2 separate regions of the Homo sapiens genome follow, and region 2 is linked to region 1. The links are contacts of gene promoters, found by promoter capture Hi-C in blood cells and fetal thymus (Javierre and others, 2016). All regions are on one chromosome and are shown on one strand. Each heading gives the region's core, a stretch centred on a gene start or on the middle of the fragment in contact. The rest is flanking DNA. Distances are from core to core; before and after follow the strand shown.

Region 1 (7,152 bases), core at 3,065-5,564:
AGCCTCTGGGGCTTCTCTCTCCATGCAGAAGCTGAACACCCTGGGCTGTCATAGGCTGGCTCAGAGGAAGGTTTGAGCCAGCAGGGCCCTCTCTTGGTCTTGTTTTTGGAGGACGGGCTGACGACAGGACTGGCCCGGGTCAGGGAATGGGTGGCTGGGATTGGAAGTGAACCAGTGCCTTGTCCTGGCGGAGCCACTGGAGCCCACTCTGCTCCTGTGAGCCTGCCACTCGGAGAAGTTAGAGGGCAGCAACTGCTTCGGCCCGCGTCCTTCCCCCAAGGCCAACAGCTGCAGAATTTCTGCCCCAGCCGCCCCCACCCCCGGAGGTGTCTGCACAGTGTCCAGGTGTCGGGCCCAGGAAGCCCTTGGTGGATGCTGGTGAAGAAGGGACAGGTACAGGGTATGGGAGTGTGTCCGGAGGTCCTGGGGTGGTGGCTGTGCATGGGTCCGTCGTCCTGGGGGAGGAGGCACTGTGCCCTCTGATGGCCAGGTGGACAGAGTCACGACTGCTTTGGTGGGTGTCCCCGGGGCTCACCCTAGGTCAGTTGCCTGCTCAGTCTCAGCATCCAGCCACCGCCTCTGGGCTCAGTCAGCTGACTGGCCACTGTTGTGTCCCCTCAGGGCCCAGGGACACAGATCCCCACATCTGAGGCCTTGCTGAGTGGAGTTCTACTGTGCCTGGTGTCCGGAATTCTGGGACAGCAGGACCATCGCCCACCTCATGGATAGGGAAACAGACTAGGGCAGGGAATTCCCAGTATGGCCGCCAGGGGCTCAACGAGGCAGGCCAAAGGGGCTGATTCGTCCCAGGCCCAGGCCGCCGCTCCCCGCATGACTTCCCCTCTGGACACCTGCGAGTTGGGGGCACCCTTGGGGAGGTGGAGGGTCTTGCTCCTGAGGGCGGGGAGGGACGCCCTGCGGTCTGCACACCCCTCTCCTTTAGAGATTTCTTAAAGCTGCGGAAGACTAGCGCTGGCTGGTCTGACCTCTCCGCGGTAGTGGGGTTCAGAAGGGCCTCTGCTTCCCCTCCGCGCAGTAGGGCCTAGCGGCACGGGTGGGCGCCCTTCTCCCTCCCCTCCACCGCCACCTCTTGGCGGCTGGCTGCTTCCCCGCCAGCTTTACCCACGTCCTGCGACGGTCACGGATGCGACGCCCACTCACCTCCCTAGACCCCGCGCGCCCGGGTGGTGAGCGCCTGGCCTCCGCGAGCCCCACCCCGTGGGCGCGCCCTCCCGAGGTCCCTCCCTGGCCGTGGCCTCCCCACGCATTTCCTGGGAGGGTCGCGGCGACAGGCAGGGCAGGTGGGCGTCCTCCAGGCCGGCCGAGAGGGCCAGGGCTCTCTGAACTCTGTGCTGCGGACCCCTACGGTCCAGGCGGCCCAGCTGCGCGCGCAGTGCAGGTTCCGGGCAGAGCGCACAGGGTCGCCGCGTGCTCGCGGTGCGCGCTCTGGGACGAGTCTTCCTGGCGCGGGTTCCGGGACTCGGGCGCGCGCCCTCTGCTGGCCGTGCGGGCTCAGCATCGGGGGCCCCTCGCAGGTGCCCTCCCAGGGATAGGGGCACCTGCTGAGCCTTCACCACTGCGCTCCCAAAGAGCCTGGAGGCCTCATCCCCATTGTGCCGCTGGGGACGCTGCCAGAGATGCGGCGACTTCTTGCTCCGTCCCCCTGGTGAGGCCAAGGCCCTGCCCCCTTGGCTCCAATCGAGGCCCGGGTGAGGCCCTTGGAGGTCCGGCCATGACCCAGGGGACGGGCCCTAACCGGAAGCCACGCCGCCGGCCCGGTGCTGGCCAACGGGGAGGCCCGGGGTAGCCCTTCAAGGGGGCCTCTCTGGCAGCTTTCTCTGGTCGGGGCTGCTCCCCAGGGACAGCATTTAATTCCTGGTATTTCTGGGAGGGCGTAGAGGTAGGGGGTGGGTTCTGACATCTGGGCCCTTCATAGACAGAGGTGGGCTCTCACAGGGGTCCTAGGCGACCCCCGCCACTGCCCTGGTTACTCCCGCATGCTCCTCGGGTATGCCCAGCTGGTCTGACCACAGCCTGCTGCATACCGCTCCCACCCCAGCAGGCACAGGTGCCCACAAGACCCCACGGGCGTGACCCAGCTGATGTGTGGGGCCTTAGAACCCAAGACCTAGCTGGGCAGCGCTTAGATGGTGTGCAGCCCAGGAGACACCAGGGGACTGGGGCCTGGAGAGGGGCAGTGTCCAGGGGTGGCTCAGGCCCACAGCAGCCCGTGCTCCCCGTTGGCTCTGCCCACCTGCCGACAGGGGTGACAGTGGCACAGAGCACTGTGACTGTGATGGGACAGCCAGGGCCAGGAAGAGGGGGAAGCGAGCCTGGAAGTCAGGTCTCCTGGGTCCTGAGAACCCGGGGCTCCTCCGCTAATCTCAGCTGTCCCAAGGGGACAGTGGGCAGTTGTCAGAGGAGGTGACTGAAACCGTGGAGCTGTGTGGTACCAGCAGGCCCAGGTGCACACACCCAGGAAGACCCCTTGGGCTGGGCAGGCAGAGCCAGATGTATCCACCCTTGGAGGAAAGTGGATGCCAACTCTGAGCTTCCTTCCCTCTCTAGGGTGGGAGCGATGTCTCCAGGGTTTACAGGGGAGATTCTTAGCGGGAGATGTTCCCTGGGCTAGGGTACAGGTCCTGGTCTGAGATGCCAGGCTAGTTTGCATCAGGAAAGGGGCCCAGGAGGCATTTCTTCCCCTAAGTCTCTGTTTTCCTATCTGTGAAATGGGTCACAGAGGCTCTGGGTGAGAGGGAGGAGCAGGTGCCTAGAATGTGCTGTCCTTCAGCCTGGCTCTCCTGAAGGCCAGTTCTGTAGGGTGTCAGTGCCCAGGAAGGACAAAAGTCATGTCCACTCTTGGCTTAGTTATGTTTTATAAGCGTGGGGTATGGAAGGCAGAGGGCGCCCCTGGTGTGCTTCTCTCCCCTCAGACCCCATGAGTGAGCTGTGCCACAGCAGCAGGAAGCAGGGGGAGGTGATCACAGGTGGAGCCAGGCCCCGTCAGAGAGGAGGTGCCTGAGGAGCACCTTCCGCCCTGCCGCCCTGGGTTCAGAGTTCCGAGTTGCAGAGGTCTCGGAAGCAGCAGAAGATCAGGTGGGCGGCCCCGATGCTGTCGGGGTCGGTGGCCACACAGGAGCTGGAGCAGGAGCGGGTCACCACGGGGCTCTGGTTGAAGGGGTACTCTGCAGGGTGGGCCAGTGTCAGAACCCTCACTCCCCTGCAGCGCCTGCCTGCTGCTGCACTGCTCCCAGCCGCCGTCGCCTGACCTCACCCTCCCTGTGATCCCTGTTCCCAATAGTCCACATCTGTGAAGCCACCCAGGGCCCAGCCCTCCTCTGACTGTGACCTGTTCATGAATTATTAGGCCTTGTCAGACCTCTGAAGTGCCTGCGCTGAGATGGGAGCCCGAGCCCAGAGGCTGTGGCAACACCACCCAGTGGGTCTGTGTCAGAGCTGGGGTTTGAGCCCCCCAGGGTACCCCGGCCATTAAGCCCCACCCACCTCCAGCGCCTGGTGCCCCAGGACTGGGTCTCTGAGGGGGCTGTGCCACCCTCGTGGAAGGCACCCCTGCCAAGGTGTGGCAGCCTGTTCTGCCCATCCCACCTGCTGCCTTTTGGGCCGGGAGGAGCACCAGCAAAGGAGGGAGGCACTTGGGGGAGGTGGCCCTGACTCCAGTGCACCCAGGGCTGCCGTGGGGCCTGGCCTCACCTGCCTCCACCGTCACCAGCGTGGTCATGCAGGCTGTGTCCTCTGGCTTGCAGCGGGTAATGGTCCTGCAGGAAGCACTGGTCATGGGCTCCTTGCAGGTGTAGCACTTGAGGGCCTCACCTGGGTGAGGGATGGGGGCAGAACCTCATCACCTGACCTCGGTGGCCTCATCCTGGAACCAGGAGGCAGGGGCTGAAGGAGTCTCGCTGACATCTTTCAAGGCCCCGGGCAGCCCTTCAAGGGGCCTCTCTGGCAGCTTTCTCTAACTGAGCTGAGCCACAGACTTGAATGCTGCATCCCTCCACCAAGCCTCAGTCTCCCTTCCTGCAGAGTGGAGCCGTGACCCCTGTCCCAGGGTGAAGCTGGGCTCTGGGACCCAGGAGGCTCACTGAGAATGAGGAGGGTGAGCCTCATGGAGGCCTAAGGAGGCTCTCAGCCACAAAGCACCCCCAACAGCCCCATCCCCCTAGGAGGTGGGCAGACAAGCTCAGAGGCAGGGTCCCCACCAGCCTGCGGCCCACTCACCACAGCCCATGCTCCAGGCTGCCACGAGCAGCAGCTGCACAGCCCAGCGAGAGGCCATTGCTCCGTGCTCAGAAGTGATGAGAGGTAGCCAGCCTCACATCAAGGATTTATACCCAGGCCCTTGGGCACCGGCTTCTGGGCGGTGGCAGAACCGGCCGTGTGAGTCAGGAACGTGGTAAAGGGCCCAGTGGGGAGGCAGCTGGCAGGAACATGGCAGACGGGCAGGGAGCTGGATCTGGGAGCTCTGTCTGAGGACGATGGCCAGGCCTCTGCTTGCACACCTCCAACACTGGGGAACTCACTGTTCCTCAGCCATGTCCAGTGGTCCTGGGACAGCTCTGACAGAGAAGGCCTTTCCTGCTGAGCTCAGACTGCCCCTCTGATGAGCCCCCATGTCCTGGCTGTGCCTCTGGGGTTCACATAGGCCACCCAGCCCCAGCCTGGGGGACCCTTAAGACCCAGGTTCAGTGTAGCCTCTGCCCTTGTTGCTCTAGCCCCGCCTGGCACCCCTTCCCTGCAGCCTGGCCTGCAGCCCTCTCCACAGACCTCTACCTGGTCTGTGTACACCTGATACACACCTGCAAAGTAGAAACCAGAGGTAGGAAGCAGGTGTCAGGTGAGGGTAGCATGGGCCAGCTAGACCACTCTCAGGCTGACAAGGTTGGGCCCAGGAGTGGCCCCTCATCACTGCCAGCCCCTTCCCACTAATGGCCTTTAGACCAAACCTGAGTTTCTTGATTTTAGGCGCCTGACAATAAGGTTCTGCTCACCCTCCAGCCTCCTGGCCTGACTGTGTTGTCTGCTCTTTACTGCGTGCCCCCCACGACACCCTGTTCCACACGCATGCCTGCCTATGCCATACCGCTCAATGACCACATTGCCTGGTCTCCCATCTGATGTCCCACATCTTCCCCATGCTGTGAGACCCACTAAGGTGCCCCTCTCCACAGTCCTTCCAGGTATACCAGCCTCTCTGGTTTCTCTGTCCTGTGATGTCCCAATGGGTGGTTGTATAGATGGATGAGTTGATGGATGGATGGATGGGGGATGGATGAATGGGGGATGAATAGGCGATGGATAGGGGATGGATGGATAGATGGGTGGGGGATGGATGGGTAAATGAATGGGAGATGGATGGGTGGATGCATGAGTGGATGGGTGGATGGATGGGTAGATGGATTAGTGGGGGATGAATATGGGATGGATGGATGGATGGTAAGAGATGGATAGGAAATGGGTGAAGGATGTATGGGTGGATAAGTTGGGGATGAATGGAGGATGGGTGGGGGATGGATGCATAGATGGATGGATAGGTGGATGGATGGATGGATGGGTGGATGGATGGGTAGATGGATGAGTGGGGGATGAATATGGGATGGATGGGGGATGGATGGTTGGATGGATGGGGGATGGATGGGAAATGGGTGGAGGATGGATGGGTGGATGGGTGGGGGATGAATGGAGGATGGGTTGGGGATGGTTGGGTGGATGGATGGATGGGTGGATGGATGGGTAGCTGATGAGTGGGGGATGAATATGGGATGGATGGGTGGATGGTGGGAGATGGATGGGAAATGGGTGGAGGATGTATGGGTGGATGGGTCAGGGATGAATGAAGGATGGGTGGGGGATGGATGGATAGATGGATGGATGGGTGGATGGATGGGTGGATGGATGAGTGGGGGATGAATATGGAATGGATGAGGGATGGATGGGGAATGGGTGGAGGATGTATGGGTGGATGGGTGGGGGATGAGTGGAGGATGAGTGGGGGATGGATAGATGGCTGGATGGGTAGATGGATAGATGGATGGATGGGTGGATGGATGGGGGATGGATAGGAAATGGGTGGAGGATGTATGGGTGGATGGGTAGGGGATGAATAGAGGATGGGTGGGGGATGGATGGATAGATGGATGGATGGATAGATGGATGGATGGGTAGATGGATGAGTGGGGGATGAATATGGAATGGATGGGGGATGGATTGGATGGATGGATGGGGGATGAATGGGAAATGGGTGAAGGATATATGGGTGGATGGGTGGGGGATGAGTGGAGGATGGGTGGATGGATGGGTGGATGGATGAGTGGGGGATGAATATGGGATGGATAGATGGATGGATGGGTGGATAGATGGGGGATGGATGGGAAATGGGTGGAGGATGTATGGGTGGATGGGTGGGGGATGAGTGGAGGATGAGTGTGGGATGGATAGGTGGCTGGATGGGTAGATGGATAGATGGATGGATGGGTGGATGGATGGATGGGTGGATGGATGGGTAGATGGATAAGTGGAGGATGAATATGGGATGGATGGGGGATGGATGGGGAATGGGTGGAGGATGTATGGGTGGACGGGTGGGGGATGAGTGGAGGATGGGTGGGGGATGGATAGATGGATGGATGGGTGGATGGATGGATGGGTGGATGGATGGGTAGATGGATGAGTGAGGGATGAATATGGGATGGATGGGGGATGGATGGGGAATGGGTGGAGGATATATGGGTGGATGGGTGGGGGATGGATAGATGGATGGGTGGGGGATGGATAGATGGATGGGTGGGGGATGAATGGAGGATGGGTGGGGGATGGATAGATGGATGGATGGGTGGATGGATGGGTAGATGGATAAGTGGGGGATGGATGGGTGGATGGGTGGGGGATGGATGGGGAATGGGTGGAGGATGGATGGGTGGATGCGTGGGGGATGAGGGGAGGATGAGTGGATGGATGGGGACGGATGGGTGGATGGGCAGAGGATGGGTGGGTGGATGCATGGATGGATGTTGGATAGATGTGTGGATGGATGGATTTCAGAAGGATGGATGGATGGAGGATGGGTGGATAGGTGGGTGGAGGATGGATGGATGAATGGGGGCAAGATGGGTGGATGGATTATTAAATGAATGACAT
Region 2 (7,152 bases), core at 2,831-5,330, 250 kb after region 1:
TTAACACGCAAGGGATAAAGGCAGCAAAGACTGGCATGAATTCCTGATGCTTGCAGCTCACAGCTGCTCCCTGCTGGCTGCGTGTGGCCACAAGACCTCTCTCCAAGAGGGTGCAGGAGGAACCTCCTTGGCTGGACTGAACCTGGGGCTTCCTCCAGCTGCTCCCGACAAGGACAGGGCAAGAGAGGGTACTCGAGCTGGCTGTTTTCCTGCCCATGGCAAGAGTCCTCTGGTGGGCATCTTTGGCTTGAAGGCAACCTGATGGCTGGCTGAGGCTTTTTTAGAACTGTGCTGAAGTTGGAAACTCTTTCTATGCAACATCCTTCTTGGGTCCTAGCAGGCCATGGGCCAAGAAAACAGACAGCAAGGCCGGGCGCGGTGGTTCACGGCTGTAATCCCAGCACTTTCAGAGGCTGAGGTGGGCGGATCACCTGAGGTCAGGAGTTCAAGACCAGCCTGGCCAACGTGGTGAAACCCCATCTCTATTAAAAATTCAAAAATTAGCCAGGCGTGGTGGCAAGCACCTATAATTCCAGATACTCGGGAGGCTGAGGCAGGAGAATCGCTTGAACCAGGGAGGCGGAGGTTGCAGTGAGTGGAGATCGTGCCATTGCACTCCAGCCTGGGGCACAAGAGCGAGCCTTCATCTCAAAAAAAAGGGGAGGGGGAGGAAAGGGAAGGGAGAAAGCAGACAGCAAGTGGGATTTTGAGACCAGCCAGCCATGGCCTGCCTGGCAAGGGAGGGCCACCTGGAGTGGAAGGTGGGACCTGGATGGTCCCTGGCTCAAGGCAGGGGCTGGTCACGGAGGGTTCACTGGCGGTGGCCTGAGCAAGCACCCCGGGAAGGACTATGCTTTAGCCCATGTGATGGTTAAGCGGCCTGGAGGGTCTTGGGGGCAAATGCCTATAGGGACAGCCATGCGCTAGCCGTCATCAAGTCACACTAACCCTACAGGGGATAATGAGAACACCAGGAGGTGCATAAGCGTCAGGACAAGTGTGAAGGCATGGGCCCCTGCAGAGGATGGGCAAAGCTGTGGGGCAGTCAGAACACAACAGAGTGCGAGCCCAGGAAGCTCTAATGCTCAGCCAAGGCAGGTCTGTGCACCAAGGCTGGGTCCCTGGAGGTGAGACCCAGAGATCCAAGGGGTGGATATCGGGAAGTGCCTGCAGACACCCTGACCCCACAGGCAGCAGGTGCATCTGTGCCGGGGCCAGTCGCCTCCATTCTGGGACACACCCTGCCCTCCTGGCCTTGGTGGGGTGATCTTGGGTTTTATTATTACTGATGTGCTGTCTTGACCCAGTTTTGAGGCCCTAGAGGCCGGTCAGTTCCCTCCTTGAGCAGCCAGTTAAGTCCACACCCAACCACCTCCTCATTGGCCCCTCACACTCCAGGCCACTGCACATTTGTCCAAATCTGCCCCAGGGCCAAGGGCCAGACTATCAGGGACAGCCCTGTGACCCAGAGCTCAAAATCACCCAAATTAGCCAATCCACAGGGAGCCCCAGAAACCCAGCCACCCCACCTGCTGTCCACACACCAGCCACCCGGCAGCCCCAGCTGTCTGCTACCCTGTCCCCGGGTGCCTCATGCAGCCCTGCCTGGACGCCTTCCTCGTTTGGAGCTGTAAGTGACAGAGTGCTCTGCTTTTCATCTCTGGAGTGTCAGTGTGCCGTGCCCTACCTCAGAAGAACTTTCAGATCCTATATAATGGGTGTCCAGCCTGGCCTCCAGCCCCACCCCCAAGAGGGCTAGGCAGGGTGTCCTTCTGCCGTTGCCCAGGGTTGATCTGGGGCAAGGGGCCGGTGGCCAGTGCTGGTTCGTCATCTTGCCATCTATTAAACATATTCTTAGGCATTATTTTGTTGCTTTTGACTCTGTTACATGTAGAATTCATTGTTATTATTTCAATTTCTATGATAACTGGTTGTTGCCAGTACATAAAAGCAATTTTATATGTTCAATCACTTACTCAAAGCATCTTATTGGTTCTGTAGGTTATCAGATGAATGAAGCTTTTGGATCTTCTCGATGGGCATCCCTGTCTTCTGCAGGGAGGGGAGAATGTCAGCACTTCTGGCCTACCGTGCACAATCTCTACTGCATCTGCCTGCCTTCATCTGCCATGAGGATCCCCAAATGCAGGTTGAGGGGTAGCAGTGAGACAGGCATCCCTGACTTTTTCGCAGCTTTAATGCTGATCACTAATATTTCATCAATTAATATGTTATCTGTCCTTTTTGAAAAAGTAGGTGTGATTTGTAGGTGCATTATTTAAATTCCATATTTTATTTTACTTTATTTTTTTGAGACAGAATCTCACTCTGTCGCCCAGGCTGGAATGCAGTGGCGTGATCTCGGCTCACTGGAACCTCTGCCTCCCAGGTTCAAGCGATTGTCCTGCCTCAGCCTCCCGAGTAGCTGGGACTGAAGGCATGTGCTTCCACGCCCGGCTAATTTTTGTATTCTTGTATTTTTAGTAGTGATGGGTTTCATCATGTTGGCCAGGCTGGTCTCAAATTCCTGACTTCAAGTGATCTGCCCACCTTGGCCTCTCAAAGTGCTGGGATTACAGGCGTGAGCCACCACACCCGGCCCCCTTTTATTTTAAATAGAAGATTTTATGAGAAATGACTGCTAAATTTCGTCAAGTACTTTTTTCACTAATTACAACATAATTACATGATTTGTGTACTTTAGTGTACTGATGTAATGTATTATATTCTGCTTCCTAATATCAAGTCACTGTTACATGTATGCAATCAAAGCTTGACTATGGTGTGCTGTTCCTTAATAAATGACTGTGTACAAATTTATGATATTTTATTTGGATTTTTGCGTCCATTTTACAAAATAAATTGGAATATTTTTCTCATACTATATCAAAATTTGATACGAAGTTACATTAGCTATATAATATGAATTGGAAAAATTTTCACCTTTTTCTATTTTCTGGAATATTTTTTAAAATACTAGAAGAACTTGTTCCTTACCAATGAGGAAGAAGTCAGCTTTAAAACCATTTGGTGTTGGCACATTTTGCACTAACAAATGTTAAATGGACTTGCCAATTTCTTCCTTTTTTGATTTACCCAAGTTTTCCACTTATTCTGGTAATGTATTTCCTCTCAATTTTCACATTTCTTGCCATAAAATTATACATATGATATAATTCACTTAATCATTTTATTTTTTATAGTCATGTCTTTGTTGAAATATGTTCCGACGTCTTTGATACCCCTCCTTTCTAAAGGCAGAATCAGCCTTAGAGGCTCACACCCCACACATGGAATGTGGCAGAGTGACACTGTGTGACTTCAGACATGAGGCTGCAAAGAACACTGCAGCCTCCGCTGTGCTCTCTGGGATCCCTGCGTGGAGGAAGAGGCCACCCATGAGGACACTCAGCGAAGACGTGCAGAGATGACCACGTGCCAAGAATCCAAGGCCTCCCGCCAAAGGGCAGCATCTGCCTGCCGGCAGCACAGTGCACCATCTAGGAGATGGGTCCTCCAGCCCTAGCCGAGCCTTCGGACCACTTCACCCCAGACAACATCTAGCCTCACGCAGCCGGAACCACCTGTGGCGAAGGCTAAAATGACTCCATCTTGGATGCTGACCCGCCATGTGGACTTCCGATGAACCCTAGTTCTGGGTCCTTAGGTCAAAACAACCTTAATGTTATTGTAAACACAAAATCCTGCCCTTAAGCGAGTTACAGGCTGCGGTGCAGGTGGCATTCTTGCCTTCTCCTGAGGGTGGACCAGCAGGCGGCATTCTTGCTTCTTCCTGAGGGGTAGGCCAGTTGTCTTACACATCCTTCTGAAGCTCCCGCTCCCTTTCCCTCTGCTACCTAAGCCCTGGGTCCGCGGGTAGCAATGCATGGATCTCGCGGCCGCCCGCACCGTGGCTTCTGCTCCCATCGCACTGTTGAATGTTTCTTTCTGAGAAACAGGATTTGTCGGCCTTTTTCTTCAGCCTCTCAGCTCCCTCAGCCTTTGTGGGTAAGTGGCATAGACCTGCTCGCCACAGAGCGCCACCCAGCAGGCTTTTCTGAACAACCCACAGAAACTGCGATCGTAAATGCTTTTTGACGTTGTAAACCTCTAAGTTTCAGAGCAATTCTTTTAATGTGACAATAGATAACTAATGCACCAGTATTGTTTTATTTTCTCTCTCCCATTTATTTTCAGCCAGCCAGAAAAAAGCAGTCTGTTTGTCGAGCTGATCCTGTAAATCTGATGTTAGTAAAAACGGGGACCCTGCCTCCCTACTGAGACCAACCCCCATCCCCATCCTGTCCACACCCTGCACAGCTACGGCAGTGAGTTTCAATCTACGGCGGGCTTTGGAAATACTCACAGTTAAATGCCAACAATGACCACCTGTTTCCTCAGGTTGGTTTAGGAGACCGTGAAACCCTCTACTCACCTCCAATTCCCAATTAATCACACTCATGGCCGCTTGCTGTTTCTACGAACGAAAAGCCTGCATTCCAGCAGATGTGAGCGTCTCCAGAATCTCCGCTTGAGTTGCCCCAGAAACACCTAGAGCCCAGTCTCCACGCCTGCGGGGGAGCCACACTCCCCGGGCTGCTGCGGCCCCCAGGGTGCCACCTCCCTCTGCAACAGCCTTTAACAGCTCTGCAAGTTCTGTGGGGCTGTCCCACGGAGAGGTGAGGTCTGAGAAGGGAGTGGAGGCACAGGGCTCCTGCGGCCACGTCAGAAACGCCCTGCAGCTCCCACCTGACATCTTCGGAGGCTCCACGAGAGGAGACCAGCCCCATGCGGAAAAGCCCAGCACCCTGTGAGCGCCACTCTGCAGACACCATGTGTGGCGTCCAGGCAACAGCCCCGCCAGAGCTCCAGCCTCATGGGTGTCCCATCTTGGACTCACAGCCCAGTGACTTCTGAACACACTCATATGACAGACTCAGGAAAGAATTGCCCCAAAGACCCCTCCCCGAATTCCTCACCCTAAAATATGACCAAAATAAGATGGCTGTTTTCAGCTGTAAGTTGGGGATGTGTCGCACGCCGACAGAGACAGGAGCGCCCTCCTTCCAAACCATAAACCTAGCATCGCTCGACAGCACCGAAGCCACTTCCAGACACTCTGCTGAAAGGAGTTTGGGAAACGTGTTTGGCTTTCTAGTCTCTGCGGGAGAGCAAGGTGTGCCCACAGAGGGCAGAATGGATGTAGTGGGGCCGCCTCTGGACATCCCAGCCTCTGAGTCTCAACCAAGCCAGCACGCCGTCGCGGGCGAACCCATGCAGGGCTCCTTGCCGTCTCTGAGCTGGGACGTCCACAGCGCTAAGTGACTGAACGCGACATGACATGTGCACAGGAGGGCTCTGGAATGGCCACCTGTGTGTCTAATTCAAAAAGCTTTCATTTTACACACCCCTGACACAGTGCACCAAGAGCCTGGCTCCCAGGCTCACAGCACGTCCATGCATGGGGGGAGCGTGTGTACACATGCATGCATGTGATGTGCTGTGGTGTGCGTGGTGTGCCCGTGCACAAATGTGTGTGTCAGTGTGTGGGTATGATGGGCGTGCACGTTTATGTATGGTGTGTATGTGGGTGTGAGGTAGGTGTGCATGTGTGTGGTGTGTGTGGGGGTGTGAGGTAGGTGTGCATGTGTGTGGTGTGTGGGTGTGTGGTAGGTGTGCATCTGTGTGGTGTGGGTGTGTGGGTGTGATAGGTGTGCATATGTGTGGGGGTGTGTGGTAGGTGTGCATGTGTGTGGTGTGTGGGTGTGGTAGGTGTGCATGTGTGTGGTGTGTGGGTGTGGTAGGTGTGCGTGTGTGTGGGTGTGGTAGGTGTGCATGTGTGTGGTGTGTGTAGGTGTGTGGTAGGTGTGCATGTGTGTGGTGTGTGTGTGTGGTAGGTGTGCATGTGTGTGGTGTGAATGTGTGGGTGTGTGGTAGGTGTGCATGTGTGTGGTGTGTGTGGGTGTGGTAGGTGTGCATGTGTGTGGTGTGTGTGTGGTAGGTGTGCATGTGTGTGGTGTGTAGGTGTGTGGTAGGGGTGCATGTGTGTGGGGGTGTGGTAGGTGTGCATGTGTGTGCAATGTGGGTGTATGGGTGTGTGGTAGGTGTGCGTGTGTGTGTTTGGTAGGTGTGCATTTGTGTTGTGTGTCTATGCGTTTGGTAGGTATGCATTTGTGGTGTGTGTGTGTGTGTGTGTGTGTGTGTGTGTAAGGATGGGTTCACAGTGCACTGGGCCTGGCCTCGTGAAACCCGTGTTTGGAATATGTGGTTCCAGTCTCATAACCTACATGGGCAACCCCACATTGTCCCGCCCCTGGCTACCGCACAAAGAGAGGTTTCTCCCGCTGCGCCTCAGGGGTGCTACTCAGCGCTTTTTCTGTCCAGGAAAGCCTCCCCAGCATCCACCCCACCACTCACAGCTTCCACCCACCGCCCACAGCCTCCAACCACAGCCTCCACCCACCACCCACAGCCTCTATCCACCACCCACAGTCTCCACCCATGGCCTCTAACCACCCACAGGCTCTACCCACCACCAACAGCCTCCACCCACCACCCAGTCTCCACCCACAGCCTCCACCCACCACCCATAGCCTCCACCCAGCCTCCACCCAGTCTCCACCCACAGCCTCCACCCACCACCCACAGCCTCCACCCACAGCCTCCACCCACCACCCACAGCCTCCACCCACCACCCACAGCCTCCACCCACCACCCACAGCCTCCCTAGCCTCCACCCACAGCCTCCACCCACAGCAGCAGGTGAGCACAGGCGGGCATTCTTCCCAACCCCAGGAAACTCCAAAGAGCAGATTTGCCTTCTAGAGGAAAGGAACCCCAAGACTCCAGTTGGGGAGACTTGCTGGGCAGGCCTGGGGCCCCTGAGCAGGCCCAAGGCAGGGAGCAGCTAAGGCCTCCAAGAACAAAGCAGTGACCCTGGGCGCTCCCTGAGCAACTGGAAGCACCGGGTGTTCTGACAGCCCCCAGGAGCTGAGGAGAGGGGCAGGGCCCCAGGCCGACCATAGCCTCCACATTCATAGCACTCTTTGCTGGCCCAACCTTCCAAGATGTTTATCTTTCCATAAACAAGAAAAGAACACCTCAACTGCAACTTTAGCCTGCAACACCCGGTCCCCAAAGCTAGTCTGTTAG

The links. Contacts are between HindIII fragments. The CHiCAGO score rates a contact against its expected background, and 5 or more counts as called.
Region 2: a fragment that was not itself captured here is called in contact with the fragment with the promoter of SLURP1 in region 1 in 2 of 17 cell types (total CD8 T cells and naive CD8 T cells); the score reaches 7.5 in total CD8 T cells.

Annotation. Positions count from the first base shown.
Region 1 is chr8:142,738,092-142,745,243 of GRCh38, forward strand. It overlaps SLURP1 (secreted LY6/PLAUR domain containing 1), which reads right to left and starts at 4,315. Exons shown (of 3, transcript NM_020427.3): 1 at 4,237-4,315; 2 at 3,712-3,831; 3 at 2,858-3,185. The coding sequence starts at 4,294. The coding sequence ends at 3,052. RefSeq lists an enhancer at 298-864 and silencers at 1,113-1,392, 1,433-1,512. The HindIII fragment of the contact is 7,810 bases long and covers 1-7,152 here.
Region 2 is chr8:142,984,505-142,991,656 of GRCh38, forward strand. The region is part of intron 1 of LY6E-DT (LY6E divergent transcript); the gene reads right to left. Among named protein-coding and RNA genes, the nearest start is that of LY6E-DT, 30 kb to the right of the region's middle. RefSeq lists an enhancer at 4,232-4,733. The HindIII fragment of the contact is 2,620 bases long and covers 2,771-5,390 here.